2 separate regions of the Homo sapiens genome follow, and region 2 is linked to region 1. Evidence: promoter capture Hi-C in 16 types of primary human blood cells and fetal thymus (Javierre and others, 2016). All regions are on one chromosome and are shown on one strand. Each heading gives the region's core, a stretch centred on a gene start or on the middle of the fragment in contact. The rest is flanking DNA. Distances are from core to core; before and after follow the strand shown.

Region 1 (3,680 bases), core at 486-2,985:
CCACCTAGATTCTACAAAGACCAAAACAAAACCGCCTTCACTTTTCTGAAACTGTTGGTGAAGGAGTCCCTTTCTCAGTCATTAACAAAAATAATGATCAGTTTTCCTATTTTAAACATTTAATACACTATTGAAAATATCAAAATGCATAAATCCAGAAACCCTGGCTCTCTTCCAAACTCCCTATTTACGGCTAAAGAGAAGGGCTGCTGCAGTGGCTTCATGCCCTGCTGAGTACCCAACTGGTAAGCTGAACCTGGCCAACAGGTGCCCAGATATGACTGCCCCTCCACACACGACTTCTCCAGCATCCATGGAAGAGGAACCTTCATACACAAGGAGCCAAAAGCATTTTCCAGACCTCTTTAAGAAACTGGAGAATAGATGAAACAGGACAAACTTCAAAAGAAAAAAAATTTAGGATTAAAACAAGGGGAATGAAGTGTGTCTAGGGATTCAGGACAACGAGGCCTGCGATCTCCTAGTAACTAGGAGAAACTAGGCCTGCGTTTCTCCGTTAGCCTTATGGCCTTATAGTCAGCTGATCAGGTGAAATCGAAAATATACCTTGAACAAGAGATCACCGTGAGAGGAGTAAGGCAGTTTCTCAAAAAATTAAAAATAGAATTGCCGTTTGATCCAACAATACCACTTCGTGGTATATACCCAAAAGAATGAAAAGGAGAGTCTCAAAGAGTTATTTGTGCATTCATGTTCATATTATTATTCACAATAGCCAAAAAGTGGAAGCAACTCAAGTGTCCGGAGAGGGATGGACCAAGAAGCAAAATGTGGCATCTCCACACAACGAAATGCTATTCCCCCTTAAAAGGAAAGGAAATTCTGACACATGCTACACATGGATGAACCTTGAATACTTTATGCTAAGTGAAACAAGCCAGTCACAGAACAAATACTGCATGATTCTACTTATATGGCACCTACAGTTGTCAAATCCATAGAGACAGAAACTAGAATGGTGATTGCCTGGGGCTGGGGGAGGGAGGAGTGCGGAGTTAGTGACGGGTACAGGGTTTCATTTGGGAAGATGAAAAAGTTCTGGAAAGGACAGTAGTGGTGGCTGTGCCACAATGTGAGGGTACTTAATACCACTAAACTGCACATTTTTGAAAAATTTAACACTTTAAAATGGTTAAAATGGTATATGTGATGTTATGCATATTTTACCACAATTAAACGAGCCACCCTGCAGTACTAAGAACTAGGAGCCTTTAGATGCATAAGACCCATATGTCCTCTTTATAATATTATTTTTTCACAGCTCCTGTGAGTCTGAGACTTTGAAAGGACAGAATCAGGTAGCGGCCCCAGCATCCTGGGAGGACCGCCCTGTCTCTCCGCCCAGGGACTCCCGGCGCGCCAACCCCAGCTGGATTCAGCGTAACCGCCCCCCAACCACCAGCCCGGCTGAGGCCCCCACGGAGGGTCCCACGCCCACTCGGAGGCGCACTCACAGGCGCACTCAGAGGCGGGCGGCGCCGCGCCCCGAGGAAGCCGCCCTCAATGCCGAGGTGCGCTGCACGTTCTTCCAATCAAAGGGCCCCAAGGTCGGGTTCTCAAGGCCAGAGCCAACCGCAAAGAGCCTATTGCCTGTTGTCCCGCCCTCCCGTGCTGACGACTAGCGAGTTTCAAACCCGCAGGAGCCAATGAGGACGCGTGGACGCGCGGCACGCCGGTCCTGGCTACAGGCGCGGCGTTTGAAGAAAAACTGTCACTGAAGAGTCATGGTGGGGCCCGGGCCTACCGCTGCTGCCGCTGTCGGTGAGTACGACCGCTGTTCCCGTTATTCTCAGGCGTTGGAACACGGCCGGGGAAGTAGGAGGCCACCGAGTGAGTTCGTCCCGCGGGAGGTGCCCGTCCGCTCGCCTGCCTAAGTTTCCCCTGGGCGTTTTCCATCCCGGGAGCGCAGACGGGACCCCCAGGTAGACGTCTGGGTCCTGGGCGGGGGAGGCTGTGCGCAGGCCCAGATACCTCACGGGCGTATTTCCAGAAAGCCCTGCAGCAGCCTTGCAAAGAGATGTCATTGTCACCACGTTCCGGATAAAGAAACTGAGGCCCCTTGCTCGGGTTTTCACCAGCAGTGGGAAGCTGCGCGCTGTTTTGATCCACATTTGGCTCCAGGCAGAGCCGGGCGTGGTCCTCTGTGCCAGGAGGCGGGGTCTGGCCGAAGCCCGGGTCTCCTGCCTCTGGCGGGGCTCTCACTCCACACCTCTCAGCCTGCGGTGGTTAGAAGTTGATTGGTTAAATCTGCACCCAGGGCTAAGGCTTCTGCGTTCCCTAATCTCTTAGATGTGCTTGGAGCCCTTTCCTACCTTTCAAAATACTCCTGCTCAGATGCCACTTTCTCCAAGATACGCACCGTTGTTTTGTTTCATCCATTATTCCTGTTGATGCCTACGAGGTCCTAGGCACTTTACATAACAAGCTTTAAAGATGGCATTTCTGTCCGCCTTATAGGCTTAGCAGCAGCAAAGTTTGCTAATTTGCTAGAAGTCACGGAGGTGGGACTCCAACCCCCTATGTCAGCCCCTACGCTCTACATTGCCCGCCAAGCTGTCTCTAAGGATAGATACATGAGCATCAGAGAGCAAAACAGGGCAACTCCGTTCAGATGAGGTTAAGAGTCGTTTGGCACCCCTGTCGTCTTTTTGTCTTCCTTCACATCATTATTTACTTTTAACCTTTTCTAGCCACCTACTCCCCTCATTTATGCCCTACCTCTGAACTCCCATACTTCTTTTCGTCTCTTATGGCCCTTAGATTTTACCTTATACTGTAATTGTTGCTGTGTTGATTTTATCTCCACTACTAGTTTGAAAGTTCTTGAAGGCAGAAATTATTGACTTGTCATCCCCTCACAAATGGCTTGCGTAGAAAGTCACCATAGTATAGGTGTCTGCCGTGAGCAGACCGGGCGTATTTTATCCTTAGTACCAACAAAGGAAGCCATATAAGGGTTTGTGGGTAAAAATCATCATCCCTGTAAAAAAACAAAAGACGTAAGACCAGGCCTGGCTCACCAGCTCAGGTGGGCCAGTAACAGAAATTCTTCAAAACAGACTGTTGTAGCTGAGAACAGTGGCTGTGAGCTCCAGGGTTAGAAAAGCCTGTTTTCAAGTCCTGGAATTGCCACATATTAGCTGGGTAACTTTGGGCATGACATTTACTCTCTCTGAATTTCAGATTGCAAAAACTCATTGGATTGTTTTGTGGATTGAAAGCAATAATGTAAATTTAGGCCGAGTGCTTTGACTTACGCCTGTAATCCTAGCACTTTGGGAGGCCAAAGCAGGAGGGTCACTTGAGCTCAGGAATTTGAGACCACCCCTGGCAACATAGTGAGATCCTGTCTCTACAAAAAATTTTTTTAAAATTATCCAGCATGGTGGTACACGCCTGTATTCCCAGCTACTCAGGAGACTGAGGTGTGAGGATTGCTAGAACCTGGGAGATCAAGTCAACAGTGAGCCGTGGTTGTGCCACTGCCCTCCAACCTCAGTGACAGAGGAAGACCCTGTCTCAAAAAAAAAAAAAAAAGTAGTAAGTTTAAAGAACTTAGTGTAGGCCTGGCATATAAATGATATTGTTGATGTTGATGTTAGCTTGAAGGCACATTTATAGGACTAGGGATTTTATAACATTATGTTGCAAAGGCAAAA
Region 2 (3,680 bases), core at 857-3,356, 2.1 Mb after region 1:
TTTTTCTTAGAACTAAGTATCACATTTCAGCAATAAGCATTGCCTATCCTATCTGGTTGTTTAAAATTATTAGTTAGGTTTTACATTTCTTTTGGGTACTTCCTGGCATGTTGAGTTGATCAGAAAATTGTATAATACTTATTTTAAAAACGTTTTAGTTGAAATTTCTGAGACAGTGTGAATGAGTTGATTTACTTCTTATGATTCCTACTGGAAGGATCAGGGGAATTTATTATGTGATAATTTTACTTACGGTTTTACCCTTAATTTCTCCGTATTTTATCCTCTTTTCCCTCATAGCTAGAACCTCAGAACCTCTGCATAATGTTCAGGTTTTAAATCAAATGATAACATCAAAATCAAATCCAGGAAATAACATGGCCTGCATTTCTAAGAATCAGGTAATAATGACATTTGTAGCTTGTGTGGAAACTGGGAATGGTATTGAATGGCCAGCCTGGCTGCCTTCTACATCCACTTTGACATCTCATTTCTTTGATCTTTCTCTTCATGGCTCTGAGCTCCATGTCAGCCACCTGCTCCTGTGGCAACTTCCTGGGCCTGTTATTCTCCCACACAGCTCACCTCAAATACAATTTGTTGTCTAACCCAGAGGCCCTCACCACACGGCCTCCTGTCTTTACTCTCCCCACCAGCTTTTCCCTTACCAATGTCCTTTCCTCTGTTCTGCTGGCCTCTGCATAGGCTCTGGAAATCCCTACTGGGAATGGATCCACCTGGGGGCTTCTGAGCCTGGCTTTCAAAACTCAGAGCCTCAAAGATTGCTGCCTGTTACCTCAAGTAACAGGGAGGTCTCATACTCCCAGGCAATGGGTCATACTCCCAGGCAATGGGACATGCTTCCAGTGTCTGATTCACTCTTTATGTTTTGTGTATCTCTTATGTTTCCAGGTTCACTCTAGCGCCAAACTATAGTGATTTTAGACTTCTTTTCAGTCTCTTCAAACTTGGGACCTCGCTACCTCTAGCCTCTCTCTCAGGAACTTCAAAAATACTATTTCAACAGATAGCAGATGCCATCAAGTGACATCTATCAGTTTTCTGCCACCAACCAATAAATGTAACTGCATCCTTCCCTGTGAGAAAAGGTGGCCTTCTATCTGTGCTTGTCCTTATCCTCATCAAGGTTTTTGCCCTGTGGAGATCTCTTCTGCCTCCATGGTGTATCAACATGGGAAAATGCTCAAGTCTCTCTTCTTCCCTCAGCCTCATGTTTCCCAACTATGTTTCCCATGTTACCCTCCACAGTACAACTTTCTTTCAAAGTTCATCAAGGACCTCCTTGAAGCAAAAGCCAATGGAAACGCCTGTGTGCTTAGGGTGTATGTACAGGTTTCATTAATGTAATACATTCTTAGAAGTAGAATATGCGCTCCTGACTTTGACAGGTAGTGCAGCTTGTCCCAATTTACATTTTACGTCCTACACATGCTTGCCACCCTCCTGACCACCTATTGTCCTGTCTAAGCTCCAGACAGTAGAGATGGGTCTTGATTGCAGTCACATTTCCCAGACCTAGCTCAGAGTGTGACATGGAGGTGTCTGGCAAATATTTGTTTAGTGAAGGAATTTGAGAACTCTTGAGGGCAGAGTAGTACCTGAGGAAAATTTTAATTAAAAAAAAAATTAGCAGCAGTTGGGAATGTCAATCCCATAATGTTCAGACACTATACTCTAGCTACTAGACTATGAATTGAAGGGAAATCAGCTATGGTTCTTCTCTACTGCTGAGTAGGACTTTATTAAAAACAAAACAACAACCAAAAAAACCTCTTTCTTTGATTAGATTAAGTTACAATAGTTATTGTAAGGTTGTTGATACAAACAATCTTTTGATATTAATCATAATTTAAAATTACATAAATCTACTTGGGATTAAGGTCCCTCTTCCCCTCAAGCATTTTCATATTGTTTTGTGAAGTAATTTGGGTGAAGCTTTCTTCTCAGATAAGTGAATGCTCATGTTTGTTTTCTGTTTTTTAGGGTTCAGAGCTTTCTGGAGTGATATCTTCAGCTTGTGATAAAGAGTCAAATATGCAAGTATAATCAGTGCATTAATCTATTATTAGTTTCCTTTAAGTGCTCTTAGGTACATTGTTGTAAATAATGTATTTTCCCCCATTGTAGGGAACGAAGAGTGATCACGATTTCTAAATCAGAATATTCTGTGCACTCATCTTTGGCATCCAAAGTTGATGTTGAGCAGGTTGTTATGTATTGCAAGGAGAAGCTTATTCGTGGGGAATCAGAATTTTCCTTTGAAGAATTGAGAGCCCAGAAATACAATCAACGGAGAAAGCATGAGCAATGGGGTACTTGCAATCTTGTATTTTTAGTTATTCTTATGTCACATAAAAAAATCCTCATCTCTGAGTAATTACTTTTTTAAAGAATAATTGACTATGTTGAAAGACTGCAAGAAAGTCTTCATCTCATCCTATCAGAAGCCCAGAAATCATTATTAACCCATTTTGCGTTTGCCCCGAGAAAACTGCGCTGGCAGCAAGCTGCACTTTTTTTTTCTGAATTGGAAATTGCTTAACCACTAGTGTAGCAGCCAAGTTAGTCCAAGGACTAAATTGATGTCTTGGCAGCAAACTCATAGTTGAAAGAGTACTAAATTAGATATCCATACCAGTGTCATCTTAGCTTTAGTGAAATAAATATTTAAAAATTTTTCAGTATTATCTGTATATAGTAATTCTAAACCTCTAGGTCAGTTATTTGAACCTTTATTCCACTCAGGACTTTTATACTATCTAAGTTATTTGGGCTATAGCCATTCTGGGCCTTTCTTTTCTGTTCATTACTTTTCATACTCGGTTGACAACAGAGAAGACAAGTCAGTTAACACAGAGGACTCATTTTGTGCTGGGCATAGATGTGTTTTTCTTTCACATGCTGTGACCAGAAGTTTTAAGCCAGACTCTTTGACTTGCCTGTGGCATGACTCTGTTAACCAGTTGTTGGAAATGGGACTGACCACAGCATGCTTGAAGCCCTGATCATTTAGTGCAGTTCACTTCTACTTAGAAAGTCTCTAGAAATTTTTATCTTATAAAAACAAATAAAAATTTATTTTAAAATGATTTGCACAATCATGATTGTTTACAAGAACAGTCATGTATATGATGGCTACAAAAATCTTTACTATTATACTGTGCTATTATTATTATTTTTGATCAGCATGTAGTTTTTTTTTTTTTTTAGTAATTTACATGTCCTAAACATGTAGTAGCCAAGCTGTGGGCAGGTAAAAATTAAAAGGTAATACAAGTTTCACTTCTAAAACCAAATATGAGAAAGACTAATAAAAAAATCGGCCCCCTAAAATATAACCCTTTCCTCATTTTGCATGTATTCCTATGATGACCTGGATTTAAATTTTGCATGCAAACCATTTCTATCTTTCCTAAAGTAAATGAAGACAGACATTATATGAAAAGGAAAGAAGCAAATGCTTTTGAAGAACAGCTATTAAAACAGAAAATGGATGAACTTCATAAGAAGTTGCATCAGGTGGTGGAGACATCCCATGAGGATCTGCCCGCTTCCCAGGAAAGGTCCGAGGTATGTTGTGCTCCTCATGACACATCCTGTGCCCAGCAGCAGGAATGGCAGTTTGATTTGTTCCTTTCTATGTGCTGTTTTAGAGTTAA

The links. Contacts are between HindIII fragments. The CHiCAGO score rates a contact against its expected background, and 5 or more counts as called.
Region 2: a contact is called between a fragment that was not itself captured here and the fragment with the promoter of CKAP2L in region 1, in 1 of 17 cell types (fetal thymus). The highest score is 5.4, in fetal thymus.

What each region holds. Positions count from the first base shown.
Region 1 is chr2:112,762,664-112,766,343 of GRCh38, reverse strand. CKAP2L (cytoskeleton associated protein 2 like) reads left to right here and starts at 1,735. Exons shown (of 9, transcript NM_152515.5): 1 at 1,735-1,782. The coding sequence starts at 1,746. RefSeq lists a silencer at 1,356-1,515 and an enhancer at 1,966-2,105. The HindIII fragment of the contact is 4,243 bases long and covers 1-2,448 here.
Region 2 is chr2:110,666,174-110,669,853 of GRCh38, reverse strand. BUB1 (BUB1 mitotic checkpoint serine/threonine kinase) reads left to right here. Exons shown (of 25, transcript NM_004336.5): 6 at 301-401; 7 at 2,005-2,057; 8 at 2,149-2,333; 9 at 3,440-3,591. Among named protein-coding and RNA genes, the nearest start is that of SNORD132, 9.8 kb to the right of the region's middle. The HindIII fragment of the contact is 295 bases long and covers 1,959-2,253 here.